3 separate regions of the Homo sapiens genome follow, and all the other regions are linked to region 2. Evidence: promoter capture Hi-C in 16 types of primary human blood cells and fetal thymus (Javierre and others, 2016). All regions are on one chromosome and are shown on one strand. Each heading gives the region's core, a stretch centred on a gene start or on the middle of the fragment in contact. The rest is flanking DNA. Distances are from core to core; before and after follow the strand shown.

The links. Contacts are between HindIII fragments. The CHiCAGO score rates a contact against its expected background, and 5 or more counts as called.
Region 1: a fragment that was not itself captured here is called in contact with the fragment with the promoter of GGA2 in region 2 in 1 of 17 cell types (total B cells); the score reaches 5.9 in total B cells.
Region 3: a contact is called between a fragment that was not itself captured here and the fragment with the promoter of GGA2 in region 2, in 2 of 17 cell types (total B cells and M0 macrophages). The highest score is 6.1, in total B cells.

What each region holds. Positions count from the first base shown.
Region 1 is chr16:21,643,975-21,647,509 of GRCh38, forward strand. All of the region lies in intron 4 of METTL9 (methyltransferase 9, His-X-His N1(pi)-histidine), which reads left to right. It overlaps IGSF6 (immunoglobulin superfamily member 6), which reads right to left. Exons shown (of 6, transcript NM_005849.4): 2 at 3,159-3,518; 3 at 316-422. LOC124903663 (a long non-coding RNA gene) reads left to right here and starts at 422. Exons shown (of 2, transcript XR_007065025.1): 1 at 422-1,202; 2 at 2,958-3,493. RefSeq lists an enhancer at 1,572-1,751. The HindIII fragment of the contact is 562 bases long and covers 1,600-2,161 here.
Region 2 is chr16:23,508,087-23,511,755 of GRCh38, forward strand. It overlaps GGA2 (golgi associated, gamma adaptin ear containing, ARF binding protein 2), which reads right to left and starts at 2,408. Exons shown (of 17, transcript NM_015044.4): 1 at 2,235-2,408. The coding sequence starts at 2,325. RefSeq lists silencers at 2,095-2,264, 2,335-2,564, 2,635-2,684. The HindIII fragment of the contact is 8,010 bases long and covers 1,560-3,669 here.
Region 3 is chr16:24,540,380-24,544,354 of GRCh38, forward strand. It overlaps RBBP6 (RB binding protein 6, ubiquitin ligase), which reads left to right. Exons shown (of 18, transcript NM_006910.5): 1 at 1-413. The coding sequence starts at 248. Among named protein-coding and RNA genes, the nearest start is that of RBBP6, 2.8 kb to the left of the region's middle. RefSeq lists an enhancer at 1-837. The HindIII fragment of the contact is 1,467 bases long and covers 1,103-2,569 here.

The DNA of each region.
Region 1 (3,535 bases), core at 631-3,130, 1.9 Mb before region 2:
CCCTCCACCTGCCCACACCTCACCCCTACAGCAGAAAGATAGCATAGTGGATGGCTCTCTTCTTAATCCCATGCTACTGGGCTTTAAAGAGAAAACAGCAAACTATGTCCCCTGGCTAATAATTTCAGTGATGAGAATGTATGATGCCTTCTTCCAAAGACCTCTTCTGCAGGTGGTGTTCCCTGCAGATGCACAGGAAAATGTTAATTAGGGAGCTCTTGCTGAGGCCCATAACTTGTGGAGAGATAGAAATTATTTTTCTTTTGATAATATTCAAGGATATAGGGACATTCCATGCAAGAGGATTTGACTTACTTTGGAGAGGAGTATGAAGGCCACGCACACACCGGTCACATAGACAGAGAGCAGTGATACAAGAGCTGTCAGGAAGCTCCGCAGTTCCTTGCTGAGCAGCTTAATTTCTTAATGACAAAAACAGAAAGAAGCACATTGACTATTAAAGCCTATTCTTTCAAATACATGTGTAAAGTATCCTTCACACTGCGTTTTAGAGGTGAAACGTGAACTTACTCTGCTTGCCTATTCGTATAAAAACTAGACCTCAAAAGGTACTCAAGTATGTAATAGTTAAAGCCAGTTCATCAGTTCTTTAAATGTGTTAAACCAAAAATGTTACTCGTTTTTAAACATTAAAAAAATTCAACCAACCATTTGTCATATTGCTAAGCATCACTTTTTAGATAAAGGATTATTTGAAGTTAGATAAACATTTCCAGACAGTTTGTTCAAGGGCATCTAAAATCTCTTTTGGTAGAAACGGTTTACCAGTATCATCAAGAGTCTGCCTATGTGGTTAAGATATTTTCATATGTATTTGTTAAGGGTGATATTTATAGCCTTGGAACTAGTACACATAGCTGAAGAGTCCCATCTGTGAAAGAACCTGGGAAGGCCATACATTGAGGAGCGCAGTGCTCACTGCGTGCTTGAAAGACAGGCACTTTTGCCAAATGTGCTCTTCTTTCTTTATGATAAAATTCTGGAAATAGAGTTATTGAATCCATTTTCACATTCGGAATTTCTCTCTCCTTGCAGAAATTGTCTTGTGCTCTGGGTAGGGATTAAGTAACATGCCATGTCTTCAATTACCTGACTATTTGGAGTACAAAATACAATTAGATTTGTACTTACTGTCTGAATAGCCTGTACTTTCCAACTAAATATCCCATAGATGAGACTGAGTGTGATGGCTCATGCCTGTAATCCCAGCACTTTGAGAGGCCGAGGTGGGCAGATCACTTGAGATCAGGAGTTTGACACCAGCCTGGCCAACATGGCGAAACCCCATCTCTACTAAAAATACCAAAATTAGCTGGGCGTGGTCGCACATGCCTGTAATCCCAGCTACTCAGGAGGTTGAGGCAGGAGAATCGCTTGAACCCGGAAGGTGGAGGTTGGTTGCAGTGAGCTGAGATCACGCCACGGCACTCCAGCCCGGGCGACAGAGCAAGACTCTTGTCTTAAAAAAAAAGAAAGAAAAATCCCATAGATGCTTATCCTGTGAATGCAGTTTATGCAGCATACATTTTTATTTGTGAAACTAACAAATTAACCACATCTATACAACTAAAATAAAAAAGCTTCAGTGTGAAAATAGGAGTTCTGTAGAAGAGACAGGAAGTTGCCATGTCTGCCTTAACACTTTCAATTCTGCCTTTCACTTTCACTTCACTTTATATAAGCCTTGCAGCTTTGAGACCTTCATCTTTTTACAAGCCATTTTTCCCTTTGACTAACATGTTTTTAGAAGGCTAATGCAGTGAGACATACAAATCTCTAAAGCTGTGTGTGTTTTCATATCAGTAGCTAACATTTGTTATTTGCTATATGCCAGGCACTATTAAAAATGCTTTAAGTGCCTTAACTTATTTATAATTTAGCTGACAGATGAGAATAAACTAAGGTTAAATGACATTTGAATATCAAAAGCCCATTAGAACCCTCGTAGTTTAAAAGCACAGGTTATAATACTGGATGGTCTCCCTTCCTCAGAGTCCTATTTTGAAATCGAAGGGCTGGTTGATTTTGAGTTCATGTTTTAACAATCTCTGCTCATCATACCAGGGTCCTTCCTAAGGGAAGAGACCCCAACAAGGCGAGGAGTTGCTGCTGTTCTCTTTTTTCCTTCAGAATCATGTAAAGCTTTTTCTCTGAAATTCCCCCTTTTTTTTTCTCGGGAATGTCTTAATCTCAGTTTACTCAAGGGAATGACTTGGTGAAATTACTGATAGGATTTAGCTATGTTTGATGTCCTCGCTCGGCTGAGGAATTGTCATGGGTTTTATCAAATCTCAGGAAGTGAGAGTCATCACTTTCCGTTCACTGATGTCCAGGCAGAATGGGAAGGGTCAGGGATCCCTGAGTAGCTTCTCTCCAAATCTGTGCTTATTCTCCATGTTGCATAGTTTCTGTGGGTCCAATTTATTGATCTTTTACACTTCTCTAGTGCTTTGTTCTAGGTGGTGCATTACCAGACTAGTTCCTGAGAAAGCTGATAGTTACTCACCACAAGGTTCCCTTTGGACATGGTACTTTACACTAAATCACTGTAATATACAAAAGAGGTGAACATGGTTGGTTAAACATCACCATGTAGGGAGAATAGAGCACCCAGCAAATCACTGACTTTGTGTTAGTGGATGTTCGAGATGGATTGGAGTAGTTCTTTTGTTTTTCTGAGATGGAGTCTTGCTTTGTTGCCCAGACTGGAGTGCAGTAGTGCGATCTCGGTTCACTGCAACCTTCGCCTCCTGGGTTACAAGCGATTCTCCTGCCTCAACCTCCCAAGCAGCTGGGACTACAGGTGCATGCCACCATGCGCGGCTAATTTTTGTATTTTGAGTAGAGATGGGGTTTCACCATGTTGGCCAGGCTAGTCTTGAACTCCTGACCTCAAGTGATTCGTCCACCTCAGCCTCAAAGTGCTGGGATTACAGGTGTGAGCCACCACGCCCAGCCAGTTGGAGTAGTTCTTTAGTCCAAACCTCATGGTGACTTGTGTTCAGATCACACCCATCACTGGCTAGGGTATTAACTTAGCAAATTTATCTCCTGATTTCTACATGTGAGTGAGGTAATGATTTTACAGGCCTGAACAAGATGCAATGATGCACTGAAATAAAGCCTCGCTGACTGACCTCTTACCACCAGTGTGGTCCCTCCTCCTGTCTGTTTAGCTCTCGCTTCCGGCACACTGGGGAATGCTATTCCACAGATGTAAATTGCACTGTCATTTGAAGTCACTCTGTTTACAGTGAGGGAAACTTGGTTTTCTTTGAGGGCCTCCCTCACTGTGAACTTGTCTGCCTCACTTTTGCACCCGTCCAAGCACAGGTTCTCAGGCTGGTGAGCACCGTAGCGAAACCACAGGCATGTTGGTTGCTCAGAAGGGCATCCGGTTGCGGAGAAGGTACACTTTATGGTGACGGCCTCATGAGTGTAGTCCACTTCTAGGTACCACGGTTGTGTGACAGAGAGAGTACAGGCGCCCACAGCACCTGTGGGAGGAAGCAGA
Region 2 (3,669 bases), core at 1,158-3,657:
GAATCTCGCCTTGTCACCTAGGCTGGAGTGCAGCGGTGCAATCTTGGCTCCACCTCCACAACCTCTGCCCCAAGGGTTCAAGTGATCCTCCCACCTCGGCCTCCCAAGTAGCTGGAATTACAGGTGTGCGCCACCACACATGGCTATTTTTTGTATTTTAGTAGAGACGGGGTTTCACCATGTTGGCCAGGCTGGTCTTAAACTCCTGGCCTCAAAGGATTGGCCCACCTCAGCCTCCCAAAGTGCTGCGATTACAGGCATGAACAGCCTTTTTTTCTAATTTTTGCAACTCCAGTCTAAGCCTTCTGTTCTCCATTGCCTCCTAAAACTACTACCTTCTGTCTCTACTGTTTAACTCAAGGATGTCTCATTAAATAACTGGTTGGTTACCAAATTCAAAGTTCTCTCTTCTCCTTCCTCATTCTCCTCCATCTTTAAGGAGCAAAACTACGTTACAACCACATCCCTCCTTTGCTATCAGTGGGTGCCCCTGCAGGTCTCCCCCTGCCTGTTTCTGCTCAGCCTTCAGTCTTCTCTTCCCATCTGCCTCTTCAATGCTGGGGCTCCCCACGCTCTCTTTCCAAACCTCTGCTCTTAATATACGCAAGCTTCTCCCGCAAGCTCACTGCCAATGAACCAGACTCCCAAACCGTACGTCCCACACTTGCCCTCTCCAGTGCCAACCAGCTGCCTAGAGGGCATCTCTTTTTTGACTATGCCACAAGCACCTCAAACTCCACATCTCAACCTTCTCTGCCTAAACCAGCTCCTCCTCACAGGGGAGGCATCTGTAACCCACCAGTTCCTCGAGCCTGAAACCCGCGATCTAGCCTAGATTTCTCCTTGTCCCCTGTCTGCATTCCAAGGCACCGAGGCTGCTGACTACGCCTGCTCATTGCTTCTCCCTCTCCCCACTGCCTTAGTCCTCCTGCGGCCCCCAACCACCACCAAAAGAGCTTTTTAGCCGCTCTCCCTGCCTGAAGTCTCACCCTCTCCGCCCAATTTAGCACCATATGGCTGCAAGTGACGCCTTTAACAGGCTTCCTTGATCAGATTCTCCGGCTGAAAACTCCCAAACAGCAACCCCGCCCTCGGATAAAACATAAACTCCTTTCTGCAGCACACAAGGCTCTTGAAGATCTCGCCCCAATTAGCCGTGCAGCCCCTTTCCCGGATTCCTGAGCTTTAGGCTTGCACTCCAGCGGACTGACCTACTTGTTCCCGGAGTGCTCCACATTCTCTTGTCCCCAGCTTTTGCACACGCAGTTTCTTCTGCCTGGAATGCGGTCGGCTGTGACGACCCCCAGGTAAACCAACTCCTACCACCACAGGTGAAACGAACGCCCTCCTCCTCCTCGCCAATCCCGTTAGTAAGGTGATGTGACTGCCGGCTTGTACCCACTAAAAAATGTTTTGGTGAGCAAGGACCCTGTGTTATGCATCTCAGTGTTCCTGGCACCTAGCAGAGCTGGGTACAAGGGGAATATTCTTTATCCCCTTTGAACCTCAATCCCTCATTGGTAAAACGGAGATAATAATAACCCCTAAGATGACTGTGAAGCTTACAGGAGACATGCAGAAGAATTCTGGCCAAAGGGTTTGAGCCCAACCAGGGTAACATAATGAGACCCCGTCTCTTAAAGGAAAAAAAAAACACACATATATATATATACGCACACACACACACACGTGTGTGTGTGTTTAAAAAAAAAAGTCTGGCCAAAGTAAACACAAAAGGTAAAAAATTTCTTTTTGACGCGGTAGCCAGATAGAGATCTTTCTCAGCCCCAAACAGACTGCATGTCTTGCACGACTGCGTCTCCTTAAGCCTCAAGGTCCCCGCTTCCGTAGTGGGGTTAATAATAGAAGCCAGCTCGGGGTGGGAATGAGGATTAAGCAGGACTAAGCCGCTGTGAGCACAGTGCCTGGCGCAGGGGAAAGCGCAGGTCACGTAGCCATTGGGGTGGGGGTCGGGGTCCTGTGCTGCTGCTAAGTTGGGGGGTGGGCGGAGGGGGAGGGGCAGAGCTCAGAAGGGGGCCGCTGCCCCGGCGGATGCTTGGGGCTCCTCTCGGGGGACCCCTGGGCGATCTTCCCCACCGCGCCGGGCCCAGGCCCCCTACCCGGCCGCCGGCCTCCCCTGCGGCCGCCCGCCCCGAAGCAAGGCCCCGGGAGGCGGGAAGCGAGGCCTCACGTGCGGCGCAGCGGCTGCGCCGAAGGCCTGCCAGGCTACTCACTGAGCCACAGCTCCAGCGACGCTGCCGGGCCCGGGGGACCCTGGGCCGACTCGGTTCCCGCCACAGCCGCCGCCACCGCGGTCGCCGCCATCGCTCCAGCCCCGACGCTGCGGCCGCGGGCGCCACTGCCTCTTCAGCCGCTGTAGCGTCCTGGCGCTCTCCTCTGCTGACTGCGCGGCAGGAGCGGTGGACACGTGACGGGGCGGGGCCGCTGGCGCCACGCCCACCCCAGGCCCCCCCTCCACGCGGGACCGGCCGGAACATTTCTTAGTCCAGATCCCTCCACCCAGCGCTGGTCTTCTAAGACCACTCACCGTACGGTTGCCAGATAAAATACAAGACGCCCAGTTAAATTTGATTTTCAGAAGAACACGAATAATTCTTTTAGCATTTTTATTTTTTAAGAGACGGGGTCTTGCTCTGTCACTCAGGCTGGAGTCCAATGGCGCGATCACGGCTCACTGCAGCCTCCACCTCCTAGGCTCAAGCGATCCTCCCGCTTCAGTCTCCGGAGGAGCTGGGACTAGGGGAGGGCACCACCACGCCTGGCGTGTGTGTGTGTGTGTGTTAGAGACTGGGTTTCACCGTGTGTGTGTGTGTGTGTGTGTGTGTGTGTGTGTGTGTGTGTTAGAGACTGGGTTTCACCATGTTGCCCGGGTGGTCTCGAACTCCTGGTGTTAGAGACTGGGTTTCACCGTGTGTGTGTGTGTGTGTGTGTGTGTGTGTGTGTTAGAGACTGGGTTTCACCATGTTGCCCGGGTGGTCTCGAACTCCTGGGCTACAAGATCCTCTTACCTCGACTTCCCAAAGTGCTTGCATTTATTTTTTATTTTTCTTTTTTTCTTTTTTTGAGACGGAGTCTCACTCTGTCGCCTAGGCTGGAGTGCAGGGGTGCCATCTCGGCTCACTGCAACCTCCACTTCCTGGGTTCAAGCGATTCTCCTGCCTCAGCGTCCCGAGTAGCTGGGACTACAGGTGCATGCCACCACACCCAGCTATTTTTTTTTTTTTTGTATTTTTAGTAGAAACGAGGGTTCACTATGTTGGCCAGGCTGGTCTCGAACTCCTGACCTCGTGATCTGCCCGCTTCGCCCTCCCAAAGTGCTGGGATTACAGGGGTGAGCCACCACGCCCGGCCTATGTGCTTGCATTTTTATTCACAGAAGGGTTTTCCTGGAACACTTTTTTTTTTTTTCAGATGGAGTCTCGCTCTGTCGCCCAGGCTGGAGTGCAGTGGTGCTATCTCGGCTCATTGCAACCTCCACCTCCCTGGTTTCCTGGAACACTTCTAAACTAACATGTCCTGCATTCCTCAATACTCTGCTTTATTTTCTGCATCACACAGTACACCATCGATGTATTATTTACTTGCTTATTCTGTTAAAAGATAATTTTCCCAAAAAAGTATGTCATGATTATCATAATTATGAAATGA
Region 3 (3,975 bases), core at 586-3,085, 1.0 Mb after region 2:
ATTTCCCCTCTTCCCCGTCCTCGTCCTCCTCCTCCCCCATGAAGTGATTCTGAGTATCGGGGGGTCTCTGGATTATTGTTCTGACGAACCCCTGCTTGTGGTTGGGGGGTATTTAATCTGAGGCCTTAGGGTCCTTCGGTGTCTTTGAGTGTTTTGTGTGTACATATTTTGCTCTTAAAGTTTATAAATATACGTATATTGAGAGTGTCCACGTCTCCTCGCTGAACCTTAGGAATCCCTTGGCACCATGTCCTGTGTGCATTATAAATTTTCCTCTAAACTCAACTATGATACCGTCACCTTTGATGGGCTCCACATCTCCCTCTGCGACTTAAAGAAGCAGATTATGGGGAGAGAGAAGCTGAAAGCTGCCGACTGCGACCTGCAGATCACCAATGCGCAGACGAAAGAAGGTAAGGGCCGCTTGGTCTTAAGATATTTGGTGGCTGGAGAGAGATACTAGCTAGAAGGTGCCTGGCAGGAAGCTAACCGCCATTATGTCTCTAGTGGGGACTGTTCGTTCTAGTACTTTGGATACAACTTTCATTGATAGCCAAGGTTTGCAGCAGTTGGCCTTGGAGTTTCACTGGTTTATTTTATTTCTGCATACTTGGGTCATCTGTAACAGGCTAACCCAAAACGTGGAAGCCTGATTATTCTTCTCGCTGTTTTTTAAAATGAGGGAGGGAGGAGAGGGGGATAGCTATCTAGACTCTTTGAGTGCTTGTCTTAGGGCGTTTTCTAACTTATTTTCCATCAGGAGGGCAGGAGAGCCTGTGCAAAGCTTGTTTGTTCAATCAGCAAAAAAAAAAACAAAAAAAAAACCAAAAAAACAATTTTCTAACCTAACAACATTGTGGAGTTTGATGGCAAATTTTATGTCCTGCCTTCCTCCCTCCTCGCATTTATTTATTTGGAGTTGCTTGCCTGTGTTGTGGATAAGGGATCTGAACTTTAATATTTTTGAGGATTTAATCAGTATTGGAATTGTTTTTGGATCTTGAAATGTTCTGATGTCACCGCTCTTGTCTTGTGTGTCAATTCCAGAATTAGTAATACGGCAATTAAGTAGTTAAACTGTTAGTTCATCACATTACTCTTAAGCTTTATCAATTCGGTGAAGATCAAAAGTACTGATTTTTTTTAAAGTAGTAGTTGCTAGATTTTACGTGACTGTTGATACTAAGGTACTGAAAAATAGGCTGCTACCATAGAGTACAAATAAGCCACTGATAAGAATCGTTAGATTCTTTCTCCTTTTCAAAAGTATTTTGATAATATTGGGAACTTAACAGTAGATAAATGTGACAAGCAGTCTTTCCTGACTCTGAACTTGTTTTGGTTTCTTTTTCTCAGATCAGTAATGCTGATGTGTATTTTTTAGCAGTTCGGTGTTCTAAAAGTTACTGATGGAATGAGAAGAAGTGAAGTTACAATTAGGTTAGGGTATTTTTTTAGTCACTAAATTTTTATCACACTTAAGGTGTGACATGGATTCTTTTAGTTGAAATGGGAGGTCCCCCACCTCCAGCCTGTAGTTTAGGTAGAGTAAATCTTGTCATGTAGAAGACCAGTTTTCCATTTACAATGCAGACCTAAGTATAATTGTATTAGGTTAAGGAACAGCAGTGCTGGCATATCATGACTCAAAAATATTAAGGAAGAATTTATTTGCTCAAATGATATTATGTGAAAATACTGTCTGCTTCCCCACCTTTTAAAAACAAGTGTCATACCCTTTGATAATTGGAGCTATGTGTAATCCTCTGCCTAAGGAGAGGAAAAACTGGTGGTGGTCATGAACAGTTGAGAAATAGCTTTATTTAAGTGCCTCACAAGCATCCCTTAACTACAACAGTCACATTTCACAGAACAGATGGGTTTATAAGAAGTTTGGGCCATCTTGACATATTGAGTATTTATGAATGAGAGGAGAGACAATATGAATGGAATTAAAGGATATTAAGGCAATTTTAATCGTCATATATTCAGGTTTCATATTTTACTGGAGTATTACACAATCGAATCATTAGGGCTAGGCGTTATCCATCTTTTCGACCCAACAATTGAATGCAGCTTTTTTTTTTTTTTTCCCCTGAAACAGAGTCTCACTCTGTCACCCAGGCTGGAGTGCAGTGGCACCATCTTAGCTCACTGCAACCTCCGCCTCCCTGGTTTGAGCGATTCTCATGCCTCAGCCTCCCAAGTAGCTGGGACTACAGGCATGCGCCACTACACCCAGCTAATTTTTTTTTGTATTTTTAGTAGAGATGGGGTTTTGTCTTGCTGGCCAGGCTGGTCTCGAACTCTTGGCCTCAAGTGATCCACCCACCTGGGTCTCCCAAAGGGCTGGGATTACAGGCATGTGAATGCAACTTTAGACTGGGTAAGTTATAGTTAAAAGAATCCTGTCCGGAAATTTAAGAGTTTTGTGACTTTGTGTAACCAATTTTTTTTTCCTAGCCCAGGAAATAAATGATACGTAATTCAAACCCAGAAAGCCAGGAATGTGTTTTTGCCCAGCACATTTTCTTTTTTATATTTATGTGAACTGCCCTTTATTGGAGAAAGCTTTGATGTTCGGTTTGTTAAGAAAAGGGAGCTTTGAGGGAGAAAATGTGTATTTTATGCAGTCCTCAAATTAAGAGAGAAAGAGATATTGATGGTAGCTACTTAACTAGTTTTATGGGAAATAGTATCCAATGTCACAAGGCAGTTGAGTAGAATGCCATTTGGTTTTAGCACCGATATTCAACATATTTACTAAAGAAAACTATGGTAATCTTTTTATCACAGTTAAGGTCCAGTTTCTTAATTTCATTCTTATAATTTTAAAATCCCTAATCTACCATGTTTCTGTAAAACATTTCCTTACAGTTTTGGAATTATGTGCATGTTTAGGTCCCTTAAATCTTTTTTTTTTTTTTTTTTGGAGACACATCCTCACAGGCTAGAGTATAATGGCACAATTTTGGCTCATTGCAGCTTCAACCTACCAGGCCCAGGTGATCCTCCCACCTCAGCCTCCCAAGTAGCTGGACTACAGCCACACACCACCATGCCTGGCTAATTTATTGTAATTTTTTTTTATTTTATTTTGGTAGAGATGGGGATTTTGCCATGTTGCCCAGGCTGGTCTCCTGAGCCCAAGTGTTCTCCTGCCTTGGCCTCCCAAGGCCATCCCAAAGTGCTGGGATTATAGGCTTGAGCCACTGTGCCTGGCATAGGACCCTTAAATCTTGATAAGACTGAAACGCTTGGGTCAGAATTCCATGGATTTTAGACAAGAATCCTGCTTGTTTCTAGACTGTATTTCAAAATGAATATCAAGTAATCTTTGTTATATATGAGAAACTTTTCTGCACACCGACCCCTAAAAAACAAAACATCCTTCGTTCTGAAATTAAAGTGTGAGAGGTTTGGAAGCTGAATATGAAGTGTTTATAAATGACCCTTGTCACCTTTCTTACTCTCCATTTCTCGGATTCATTCTGTTTTTCATTTCATCCATGCCTTTCATGTCTGGGGTCAAAAAAACTGGCAAGCAGAAAGGGTCTTTTGAAGCCAACAGACTACTTGTTAAGGAGGTATTTTAAATGAAATACCCCCAAAGTGTCTTTATTACCCCTAGAAAGATACTTTGAGGGGTAAGAAATCATTGTAATTCAGGTATTTAAAAAGTCAGTTAGAACATCTGTTTTGAAGGGCATTGAGGCACCTTTTAGTTTGACACAGTACGGTGCTAATCAAATTAATAAGCTGTCTTGGAAAGCTCTTGTGAGTGCATTGAGTTGTTACATATTCAGAAACTTCCTGTCAGGTGTTTGACACAAAGTTTTATTTCTAGAATTAACTTTTAAAAAAATCTAGTCACCCCATGCTCTCAGTTTTTCTGACTCAAAGCTTCCTCGGAATTTGGGGCTATCATGAACTGTCCAAGATAAAGATTATAGTCCTACATTGGCATGCCTAAAT